2 separate regions of the Homo sapiens genome follow, and region 2 is linked to region 1. The links are contacts of gene promoters, found by promoter capture Hi-C in human tissues and cell types (Jung and others, 2019). All regions are on one chromosome and are shown on one strand. Each heading gives the region's core, a stretch centred on a gene start or on the middle of the fragment in contact. The rest is flanking DNA. Distances are from core to core; before and after follow the strand shown. Region 1 holds the start of MRPL42 (mitochondrial ribosomal protein L42). Region 2 holds the start of LOC102724960 (a long non-coding RNA gene).

Region 1 (6,372 bases), core at 1,210-3,709:
ATACTAAAAAAGTAATACATGTAATCGAACAAGAGAAAGTTACCCTTGACCAGTCCCTTACTCCTGCCCTCAGCCAAATCCCAAGAGTGGGCTACACAGATAACCACTGTTTGGTCCAGACCTTTTACCTCTGCATTTATGCATATGCACACATGCATATGATGGATCATCTTTTAAACATACAAATAAGATCATATGATAGATATATATAGATGTGGTTCTGACATGCTTTTTTTGTTTCTATTTGGAGATCTTTCCATGTCAGTAACAGCTACATGACAGTCACAGTTCAGATGTACCATAATTTATCCATTCCCCTCCCCAACCCACATTTTTTTTTAGAGGTGGGGGTCTTGCTATGTTGCCCAGGCTGGTCTCAAACCCCTGGCCTCAAGCAATCCTCCCACCTCAGCCTCCCAAAGTGCTGGGATTACAGGCATGAGACACCACATCTGACCTATCCATTCCCCTTCTGACTGACATTTAGGTTTTCTCCCACTTTCCATTGCTGCAAACACTCCTGCAAATTACAGGCATATACAATAACTAAATGCTTTAAATTTTCTTAATTCTTAAAAGTTTAAAAGTTTTTAAACATTAAAAAAAATTTCACTTACTTTGGACTGGAAATAAATGTTTCAAGATAGTTCTCTTTGACATCACCCATTTTACTGCAGCTACAGCCATGGTGTTTCAAGATGCTTATCAAGTGGTATGAAAAAAGATGTTCTGAAGAGAAACTGCTTTTAGAATCTGCTTCTAAGCATACCAATTTCTACTCCTGCTGAAGAGATAAAGAAAAATCAGTGCTACCTATGGTAAATTTAAGTTATATTAAACACCACAAGAACAAGGTAAGAATCACTGCCTAGAAGTCAACTGAAGCAATGCTTTTAAACAACTTGGCAATTCCACATGATTGAACAACAGGACGAAGAGCGACATGGACAGAATATAAGATCAGAACCACTGGAACTATGTCCATTACTATTTATCTTAGATACAAACTTCTCTGCAGGACCCAGTGCAGCTCCTTCCACTTAATGAATACTCAGTAAATGTGTAATTACTCTTGAAACAGTCACTCACAAATGGTACACAGAGTATTCATTCTTTTAATGCTAGTGTGGCTGTGTACACCCTCCAAGGTTCCATACACAAGATACTACATCATTTACAGTACTATCCTGTTTCTGATTAAATGAAATAGTTGTCTGCCCTGAGCCATTAATAATAATAATAATAATAAAGAAATATCAAACAAGGCCTATCCTTAGCCTATTACTCAATTGGAGGAACTCATAAATGCCCTCAAGTCCCAGATAAAATTTCACCATCTTATATGTGTACAAAGTCTTTAACTTTCCAACGTACTTTCACCACCATTTCATTTTGCTCTCGTATTAATCATGTGAGGTATCTTTATTCTGATTCATGAAGAAACTAAAGTACAAAATTTAAACGTCTTGCTTCCAAGGACTTTAGAGTCAGTCACTGCCAAATTGGGAAACTTTAAACAAGTCATTAACTAAACGATCCTCAGTTTCTCCAATGACAAAATGGGGAAAACCACAATCTTCATGGCCTGTTGTGAATAAATGACAAATAACCATTGTTAAATCTTGTTTTTAATAGTCTTCAATGAGTATCCGTGCCCTTCCCCCCAATAGTGATAAAAGAGAATTAGGACACAGGCCCTCTTATTTGCTAGTCTAAACCACTCACACTGATACCTTGCACTGCCAGTACATTAACACCGTTAACCCTGAGCTCATAGGTGTGCTTTTTAGTTTACAACCCACTTTCATATACAATATGTGCTCTGACTTTCACAAGTGTGTGAAGCAGCATCTCCATTTCAGATTAAGAACAAAGGCTCAGAGAGGTCAATCGATTACTTGCTCAGTATATCGCTGCTTAATACATGCGTGGGACGTAAACCCATGACTTCTGACCACGAATAAAACATCTTGGGGGAAATTAGGTCCCCTCTGTCCGAAGCCCAGAGAAAAGCACGCCCTGCTGGGAGTCAGATTATTCACCCCAGGAAGATCATTTCAGAGATCAAGTCCCTCAGCCCGGAATTCAACCCCAAAACAAAAGCTACAGAGCCTCTGAGGGTCAGAGGTTTGAGGAACAGGCTACCAAGAGCACCAGAACTCTTCGACCTAAAGGAGTCCCTAGAGCCACAAGCTGCATCACCTCCCCACGGGCGTCCGCCAGGGAACAAAGGGGGCGCTATAAGAAACGCGCAGCCACATGCCGGCTCTTCTGCAGGAAGGACAAAGGCTGGGGATGCAGGCAACCTCGCCCTGCCGGGAACGACAGGCGGGAGACCTCTACAACTGCCGACCAACACTGTGGGACTGCCCAGTTTCGAGGAAGTCCTCGACAGGAGGAGTAGAGGGAAGCGGTTACCTTGACGGCTTCTCACCACGAACCCGCCATCTTGTTTCAATCCTGGTCCCACGAAACAGCGCTGCGCGCGCCGTCCCAGCCCGCGGGGCATTCTGGGAAATGTAGTCTCCGCGGGAAAGCGGCCCGGGTGCAGAGAGAAAGGGAGGATTGTTGCTATGGACTTTTACCTTTAGTTGGGGAAGCGTGGCCGCAGTGTTACTAAGGTGCCCAGAAAAACAAAATCACTGCCCCAAACACATACCCTTAGAAAGTAACAAGCTTTTTTTTTTTTTTTTTTTTGTGAGGCAGTCTCATTCTGTCACCCAGACTGGAGTGCAATGGCTCCCTCACGGCTCACTGCAGCCTCTACCTCCTGGGCCCAAGAGAGCCTCCCACCTCAGCCTCCTGAGTAGCTGGTACTACAGGCGCACACCACCACACCCAGCTAATTTTTTAATATTTTTGTAGAGACGAGGTCTCGGTATGTTGCCCAGGCTTGTCTCAAGCAATCCTCCTGCCTCGGCGTCCCAAAGTGCTGGAATTACAGGCATGAGCCACCATGCAAACCTATAAGTACTTTTTAAAAAAATTATGTTAATATTCAGAGAAATCGTAGATTGCTCTTTAGTAGATGAGTTAAAGTTTCCCAGGGGAAGAGACATTCCAGAGAAGCCCTGAAATGTGGAGGCTAGGATTTGGACGTTTGAAATCAGAACCTGAAGAGAACCTCCACTCTGAAAACCTGGCACTGTGCCCTCAGAACTGTGCTGGCTACCTATTATGGGAGGAAGTAAATATGCAGAATCTTGGACCTCGCTTTCCATCTTAGGAGGAAGGAAAGACCTCTGGGCCTTTGCACTCTCTGTTCCCATTGCCAGCAATGTGCTTCTCTGACCTCTTCTCATGACCTTACAGGTCTTTCTCAAATATCATCTTAGAAAGGACCACACCATTAAAATAGCCTCACCCACCCTTATTCCATGCCCCGCTTTATTTTCCTTCAGAATATTTACCATTACCTGACTTTATATTGATTATTTGTTTGCTCGTTGAATGTCTCTTTCTTTTTTTTTTTTTTTTTGAGACGGAGTCTTGCTCTATCGCCCAGGCCGGAGTGCAGTGGCATGATCTCAGCTCACTGCAACCTCCGCCTCTCAGCTTCAAGCGATTCTCCTGCCTCAGCTTCCTAATTAGCTGGGATTACAGGTGGCCACCACCACGCCCAGCTAATTTCTGTATTTTTAGTAGAGATGGGGTTTCGCCATGTTTGCCCGGCTGATCTCGAACTCCTTACCTCAGGTGATATGCCCACCTCGGCCTCTCAAAGGGCTGGATTACAGGCGTGAGCCACCACACCCAACCTCGTTTAATGTCTCTTATGCTGGATAATGTAAGCTCCTTGAAGACAGAGACATATGTCTATCTTGTTCTTCACTGTATGCAAACCCAGCATCTCAGACTGTGCTTGGTCTCATTATAGGTCTCCAGGAAGTGTTTGCTGAATGAATGAAAAGACTAGATAACGCTGCAAGTATCCAAGACAGTAGATGATTGGCTGGTAAAGCAGAAGCGGTCGCCTGGAAATTCCCTTCTCCCATGATTTGCAAAATTTTGCTTTTGTATATTTTTCTAAGAAATAATCTATAGCTTTTATTATGTATTCCAGGGAATTGATAAACCCCTCAACAAGTTAAGAACCATATTCCTGAAGTGACTAGTATTGAAAGTAAGTGAACACACATCACATAGTAAAGAAAACTAAATACGGGCTGTGTAGTGTGTCTCCTCATTTCCCACGGAATATCAGGAGGCTAATCTTTGCTCTTATAGAAGCCCACAGAGGGCCCATCTGTGTCCTTTCCAGTCGTGTCCATCCTCCAAAGCCACCCATGATGTCTTTCTGGACTGTGCAATAGGAAGGGACAGAGAGGAGAAACAGATTTGAATGAGCAGTCAACTGGACTGGTTGAACATTCCCTGCGTAAAGTGTAAGAAGAATGGATCAAAGATAATTCCAGAGGTCAAGTCTTGATGGCTGTGAGCAGAGTGGGACCAGTCCCCAACAGGGAGACTCACTTAGTGGGACCAAGGAAGGTCTCACAAAGCTGAGACCAGAAAAGAAACCAACATTTTTGGGGGAAGAGAGGGGAGAGACAGGTTTAGGCTGAGTGAGGGAACAACTTACACAAAGGTTTAATGTGGTGGAAATAGCTTACCATATACTGGAGTAGGGTGGATAGTGTGGATGAGAGCGGCAGGAGATGAGATTTGGAGCCAGGTCATGTTGGGCTTCATAAGCCTTGGAGGGGTTAACATGGAGTTAGGACACAGGACATATGTAGAGATTAAATAGAGTAGGTGGTGCTGTGTGCCTGTAGTCCTAGTTACCCTGGGAATGGGAGGCTGAAGTGGGAGGATTGCTTGAGCCCAGGAGGTCAAGGCGGTAGTAAGCTATGATCGTGCCGTGCACTCCAGCCTGGGTGACAGAGTGAGCCCTGTCTCTTGAGATTTTTACATGAAAGAAGTGACATAATTTGATTTCCATTTTTAAAAGGTTACTCTGGCTGCCCTGGGAGGAGTGGTTTGGAGAGTGGCAAGACCGCAGGCAAGTCTAGCAAGGAAGCTACTGCAGTACTGCAGTCAAGAAATCATGTGATGGAGGGTGGTGGCAGTGGAGATGGAGAGACAGGAAGAGTCCAGATGTATTTTGAAATTGGAAGTGATGACTTAACTTGCTGATGGATTGATTGAGAGGGAGGAAGATACTTCAGGTGATGCTTTGATGACTAGTTGACAGTGGTGCCCTTCATAAGACAAGGAAGACTGAAAGAGGAACAGGTTTGGGGAGTCTGATGATGGTGGAAATGCATACTTCCGTTTGGGAGTTGTTGAGTTTGAGATGGCTCTGAGACACTCCAGTGGAGATACAAAACAAGTCAGCAGCCTGGGCAATATAGTGAGTGAGGCCTTGTCTCTACAAAAAATAAACAGAATTAGTAAGGTTGATGATGCACACCTGTGATCCCAGCTACTAAGGAGGCTGAGGTAGGAGGATCGTTTGAGCCCTGGAGGTTGAGGCTGCAGTGAGCTATGGTCATGCCACTGCACTCCAGCCTGAGTAACAGAGTGAGAGCCCCATCTCCAAAAAAACAAAAAACAAAAGGCAGGTACTTGAAGAGGTGTGTTTGGAGAGTAGAGGTTGGACTAGGTATAGAAAAAAAAAGATAAAGGGCCTAGAAGCTGGCCCCAGGGAATTCGAAGGCTTAGAAATCAGATGGAGGAGGATAACCTTTAGCAAGGGCCTCCCAGGAGTGGCAGTGAGAAAGGTAGAAGGAAAACAAATACTGTGATGTAAGAGTAGTTAAGAGAGGCCATGTCACAAAGTGTTCCTAACTTAAGAGGTCAGTGCTAGCAACTTAAAAAGTATAATTTCCAAAAATACAAACTTGAAATACCAGCAAATAACTTATATTGGCCTACATAAAAGTGCTTTATTTTATTTTATTTATTTATTTTTTTAAGACGGAGTCTTGCTCTGTCACCCAGGCTGGAGTACAGTGATGTGATCTCGGCTCACTGCAACCTCCACCTCCTGGGTACGAGTGATTCTCCTGCCTCAGCCTCCTGAGTAGCTGGGATTACAGGTGCCCACCACAATGCGCAGCTAATTTTTGTATTTTTAGTAGAGACGGAGTTTCACCATGTTGGCCAGACTGGTCTCGATCTCCTGACCTCAAGTGATCCGCCCACCTCAAGTGATCCGCACACTTCACCCTCCCAAAGTGCTGGGATTATAGGCATGAGCCACTGTGCTCAGCTACAAATGCTTTAAATTCATGCTAGTAAAATGACAAACAGACAAAATTCTAGAACTTTGGAATTGGCATCAAATGGCTTCCATTTAAAAGAGGATTGCCTTTTCTTCTGTAACTTCCCAGAAAAAAAAGTCATTCTTTGTATCAATCAGAGAGCAAA
Region 2 (6,372 bases), core at 2,353-4,852, 1.0 Mb before region 1:
TATAAATGACATTGTGTCCCACAGGAGATTAGTACCACGTTTGTATCCTACAGAGTGAATGCAGGCTACCACAGCAAGTTTAAACAAGTAGTACTCTCAACTGAAACTATGCTGGACATGGTATAATTGCTAAGGCAGATTAATAAGGCCTCAGTCACATAGTTTGTAGACACTGATTTGATGGATGCATTATTTTATATTCCAATCAGAAATAAGGATAAGAAATAATTCACATTCATGTGGAGGAGACAATATTTATTTCCAGCTTTGTCCAAGGACCATGTTAACTCTTCTACTCTCTATTGTAATACAGTCAGAAGAGATCTGGACTGTCTGGACATCCAGTGTGTAACATCACATTGATATGTTATATCAACAATATTCAGACTGAGCATGATGAGCAAGATGTGGCTTGTATACTAGAGGTCTTGGTAAGACATGTATCCAGAGAGTGGGAGATACACTTTTAAGAAGATTCAAGAATTTGTGACTTCCGTAAAGTTTTTTCAAGGTCCAGTAGTCAGTGGCCTGTGGAGACATCCCCTCCAGGATAAAAGGCAAATTTCTGCATCTTGCATCTCCTACTATAATGAAGCCCAATGCCTGGTGGGCCTTTTTGGGTTCTGGAAGCAATGAATTCCATACCTAGGAATACTGCTTTGGTTCACATGTAGGCAACATGTAAGTCTGCCTACTGTGAGTGCAGAGATGAAGGCTACACATGAGCCCAAGAGCATGAATTCCTACTTACCAAGGCCAATATACCTACTTGTCTCTGAAGGTCTAATTTGCCAGCAACAGAGACCAACCCTGAGTCCCTGATATGGCATTATTACTTGAGAAGATAAACCAGCCACTTGGTGGCAAGTCAACAACACTGTGCCCTTTCCATTCTGGAGTGGCCAGCAGTTTATCCTTACAGGGATACATATTTATTCTGGGTATGGGTTTGCCTTTCTTGGCTTCAGAGCCACAGCCCATACCACTATCTAGAGGCTTAAAGAAGGCCTGATCCACAGGTATAGTATCCAACTCAACACAGGATCCAAACAGGGGATCCATTTCATAGTAAAGGTGGTATGAGTATGAACTAATGACTAAGGGATCTACTGGTTTTATCACATACTGCACCATCTGGAGCAGCCAGCCTGATAGAGCACTGGGCAACCTACTGAAGGTGCAGCTGGAGTGCCGATTTGGAGGCAATATTCTGCAAGAACAGAGTGCCACTTTTCAAGATCAGTATATATACTAAATCAGGGAGCTCTAAAGGCACTGTCCCTAATAGGAAGAATACATGGGTCCAGGAAAAAGGCAGAGGAAGAAGAAGTGGCCCTACTTACCATCCACCCAAACGACTCATCGGGGAACTTTGTGCTTTCTGTTCCTGCAACTCTGGGTTTTGAAGGTTTAGAAGTCCTGGTCCCCAAAGTGGGGTGAATTCTTGCCAGGAAATGCAAGGAAGGTCCCACTGAACTACAAGCTATGGCAACTGTTTGGGCATTTTGGACCCTTTGTGTCAAGGTGCCAGCAGGCAGGAAGAGGAATCCCCATCTTGGCAGGGGTAACTGACCTAGATCAACAGGAAGCAGAAGGGCTTCTTTTACACAATGGGCAGAGAAAAATATGTAGCCCCTAGGTGATCCACTTGGGAGTCTTTTGAGACTTACTTGTAACTGTGGAAGGACATGTACAACAATCACATGAGGTATGTGTAATTGCCAATAAATATATATTTCTCATCAGGAATGAGGATTTGGGTCACACCCAGGTTACACCACTAAGATCTGTGGAAGTGACTGCTGAAGGAGAGGAGAACTTGAAATTGGTATGGAAGAGGAAGATAAGTAGCAGTTGCAGCTTTGAAACCAACTGAGTGACAGGGATTATGGTTTGTCCCAATAACCCCCTTTGTCTAAGTTTTCCCTCAAGAAGTGAGGTCCAGAGGAATCAGAAAAGCTACTCCCAGAACATGAGAGGTTCAACAGAGAACCTGCTGGAAGGACTAGAAAGGAAAAATAGAGTTGAGGAAACCATGAAGAAGACAATATAGATGAAAATGCTTCTAAAGTTACAGAAATATCAGGAAATAATACTGATGAAGATGAAGCAGATGACAAAGATGAAGGAACCAAAAAGGAATCCTTTGACAAAATGCCTCCAGCATCCATTAAAAATGGCAGTGATTCACCTCCAAAACTCAAGATACAAAACAAAAATGCCAAGAAAATGCCTCCCAACCTGGCCTATTGAGAAGCAGCTAATGGCCAAGTAATCAAACTAGTACAGCATTTGCTAATGGCGATATGAAGATTTTCTAACAAAAAATACACAAGAGTTTGCCTGTAAGTCAGGTGAAGGGTTCCAGATCATCAACTAAAAATAAGGTTAGCTGTTATGCTAAACCTGTGACTGCAAATGAAATTGACAATGAAGTGGGACCCTCAGAGTCTAAACGAGAAAGAACAGGGGTGAATCTGTGATAAGATTATTGATGCTCTAGGCAAGGTGAAGCCACCTCTGTTAAGGTCTGGTGCTATCCCTCCTGACAACCATCAGCAAAATGGAAAAGATGCCATGAAGTTTCCCTAAGGTTTCCAAACGGTTTTTGAGGTCAAAAGAAGAAACAAATCTGCTATAATTCGATACAAAATGTGAACACTTACGCAGCCTGGGAAGTTAATTCATCTTGTTTTCCATGCAGGATCTCAACTCCCAAGCCTTATCTCCCCAAACTTCTCATTTTGTGTCCAACTTTAACCTGGATTAAAAAAAGATAAAAGAAAAAGATAAAGAAAACATCAAAATCATCACCTTGGCATGTCTTGACATGTTATGACTTATGTATATCATCTTGTTCTCCTGCTTTACAAGCAAAAGTATCTCAGTAAAGTATCATTTTTGTTTTGCTTTAAAGAGAAAGAGAGAGAGATGGAGAGAGAGAGAAAGAGAGAGAGAGAGAGAACCTGCTGTGAGGACTGTAGCTAGCTGACAGTCTTCTAGTATTATTCCTTGGAGATTCATCATGGCATTTATGATTTGGCCTTACCCTACCCAAACTTCCTCAATGGCTGAGCACAGCAGGGGTAATAGAGCCAGGCCACATCTGGTCAAATTGGAACCCCCTCAAATGGTCAGTCTTTGCTCTGTGGCTCCCTATTGGCCTGGCCAAGACATTCCTAGAGCTGTTATTATAATCTAAGGCTGTTCCTACTGAATCCACCTCCCTCTTCTCATGACATTGACATGGGTGTCAGATCTGCATCCCAGTCTCAAACTCTGCCTGCTAACTGCTTCCTCTTCCCTACAGCCATTTCCCCCAATCCATCTCTTCTATGTCTGTCTTGGTGTCTGCTTCTCTGTGGACCTGAACTGACCAAAGTCCCATTTACAGTAGGATGTCTAGCATCCCTGGCCTCTCCCACAAAGGCTGGCAGCACTGTCCTTCCAATCTTGAGGCAACTGATGACACCCTCCACTGATTTCTTTAATAAAATGTTTCTATTGAGAACCACTCACTCAGAGAATAAATCAAGATCACAAATTTTAGAGCTAGAAGAGGTCTTACAGATAAAGAAAAATTAAGGAACAGAGAAGTTTAATGACTTCCTCTATTTATTTTCTCCTTTCCTATAGTGCCGTCACCTTCTACTCATTCCCTAATCCAATTCTTGCACGTCAACTGGAACTGATAAGTTTTGAATAGTGAGTTGTAAGTATCAAAGAGGCTGCAAGCCTCAATTCAGAGAAAAATTTAGGAAATGATCACCTTCTGAAAGTGATGCTAGGAAAAAAAATCAGTATATGGTAGATAAAATTAGCCATCTGTATAAGTAACTCACCCTTGGACTTGGCTTTGAATTTATTACTTTTGTGATCAAGGTGCTTTCCAAGATTCCATCAAGTCACATGGATATAGTCTCAGGAAGACAATCTTCAAATGCGGAGGTACTGTGGAGTATAAGTAGTAGACAGTATTGTCTAAAAAAGATTCAAGAATTTTAGCTGTTTAGTTGTTTGATGAGTTTACAGCAGAGACCATTTTCACTTTAATTCAATAAATATTCATCTAATACATTTATTTACTGATTGCCTACTGTGTGCCAAGCATTATATTAAGCACAAGGCATACAATGGTAAACAGGACATGATCCTTCCCCTCAAAGAACTCATTAGTTGGAACATGTTATTTTTAATGGGGAGATATCACCCCTCAAGGGGGCAAAAAACCTTAGATATTACAATGGTCCTTGGCCCTCCAAAGAGCCACAGTACATAAACAGACATACAGTATATCTGTGATTTAAGATTTCATGGGGGTGGGAGGAGCAATGAGGAAAGTGGTGTCTAAAATGGCTGCTTAGGGGATCAATTATGAAAACAAGGCTAAGAAATACGGTCTAGAAGAAGAAAAAAGGAGAGAAAAAGAAAGAAGATGAAAGAGAAGGAAAGAAAATAAAAGTAGAATGATGAAAAAGAAAAAGGAAAGGAGGAAAGAAGAGATAATTAAAGGAGAAGGTATATGAAATTTTAAGACAAAAATAGGTTTGTCTACCACCAAGCCATATGACATATAGCTTTTTTTCCTTGACATTCTGAAATACAAGCTTATTCTTCTTACATTATTTCTGGCTCTGGCAACAAAGTATTAAAGGAAATGCAATACTGGAATGCCTACCGTTTATAAGAATTCCTTATCCTAAAGCATTCTGTTTCTTGCACAAATACTCCAAATGTCCGTACTTTTTTTCATTTAAAGCTTAAACTTACTTTGGGAGGCCGAGGCGGATGGATCATGAGGTCAAGTGATCGAGAGCAGCCTGGCCAACATGGTGAAACCTCATGTCTACTAAAAATACAAAAAAATTAGCTGGGTGTGGTGGTACGCACCTGTAATCCCAGCTACGGGGGGTGCTGAGGCAGGAGAATCGCTTGAACTCTGGAGGCAGAGGTTGTAGTGAGCCGAGATCACACCACTGCACTCCAGCCTGGGCAACAGAGCGAGACTCTGTCTCAAAAAAAAAACCAAAAAACCAAAAAACAAAAAAAAACACCCTGAAACTTGTTTGTATACATTGAAGTACAGTGAAATAAAAAATTAAAATTACACTTGTATGATAATTTCCTTATTGGGTTCCTAAAAACCCTATTATTCCATTTACCTGTAATACAAATTTTGTTAGCTTCACAATATTGAAGTCCTTAATTCATAGCAATTATTTATTTCATTTATCTGCCATAGTAGAGTAACCCATTTGTTATTGTTTGAGAGCTGATTAAATTTTTTTGCAGTTTGGATTTATCCCTAGGACCTTTCCCTTGCTCCGAGTATGAGTGCACCAACTTTCTGATTACTAGTCTGATTTCTTGGGTTATCTTGATATAAGGAAAAGAGTTCTCTTGCTAGCAAACATTAGTATTTCAGTGAATAGAAAAGTATTTCTATTAGCACTTTAAAATATGTTTTATGGTGGTATAATTAACAGAATAAAATACACATATCTTACTCAATTTGATGAATTTTGACAACTGTATATCCTGTGTAATTACCACTTGAAACAAAATATAATCTATCATCTTAGAAAGTTCCCTTGGACTCCTTTCAATCACTGTCCCCTATAACCACTTAGAAATTTCTAAAACTAGATGGTCTTTCTTGGATTTCATGCAAATAGAACAATACGGTTTGTATTCTGTTGTGCCTGGCTTCTTCTGTTTATCAAAATATTTGTGAGACTTACTCATGTTGTCAGGTATACCAGCAGTTTGTTCCTTTGTATTGCTGAGTTGTATTCCGTTGTAAGAATATATATCATTTTTAAATTGTATCTGTTTTCCTGTTGATATACATTTAGGTTATTAGTTTTTGGTTATTATGAATAAGGTTGCTCTAAACATTCTTTGTGTAAGTTTTCTTGTGAAGTTGCATTTTCGTGTCTCTTGGGTAACTAAGTGAAATTGATGAGCCATGAATAAGGTAGATGAAAGTACAATGAAAAGAAATTGCCAAGTACTTTTCCAAAGTATTTTACACTCACATCAGCAATGTGTAAGTTCCAGCTGTTTCACATCTTTGTTAATGTTTGGGCTACTACACTTTATTTCAGCACCTTGGAATGTCTGTGAAATGAAGTCCTCTGTAGATTTAATTTTCATTCCCTTGATGATCAAAGATATTAAGTACTTCCTCCATTTTTTTGTTGTGTTAAAATACACATAACATAAAAACCATTTTGTAGTGTACAGTTCCATCGTATTAAACACTGTACATTCATAAATGTGCAACCATCACCAGCATCTATCTCCAGAATTCTCTTTATCTTGTAAAACTGAAACTATACCCATTAAGCAGTAACTCCCCAGATCCCCCAC

What was found. Contacts are between HindIII fragments. The study calls those that stand out against the background at their distance.
Region 2: a fragment that was not itself captured here is called in contact with the fragment with the promoter of MRPL42 in region 1 in 1 of the 25 tissues and cell types used here (bladder).

Annotation. Positions count from the first base shown.
Region 1 is chr12:93,463,601-93,469,972 of GRCh38, reverse strand. It overlaps MRPL42 (mitochondrial ribosomal protein L42), which reads right to left and starts at 2,459. Exons shown (of 6, transcript NM_014050.4): 1 at 2,419-2,459; 2 at 618-781. The coding sequence starts at 687. RefSeq lists enhancers at 2,238-2,507, 2,568-2,627. The HindIII fragment of the contact is 7,004 bases long and covers 1-5,972 here.
Region 2 is chr12:94,469,906-94,476,277 of GRCh38, reverse strand. LOC102724960 (a long non-coding RNA gene) reads right to left here and starts at 3,961. Exons shown (of 3, transcript XR_945224.3): 1 at 3,843-3,961; 2 at 2,667-2,761. The HindIII fragment of the contact is 7,278 bases long and covers 1-6,372 here.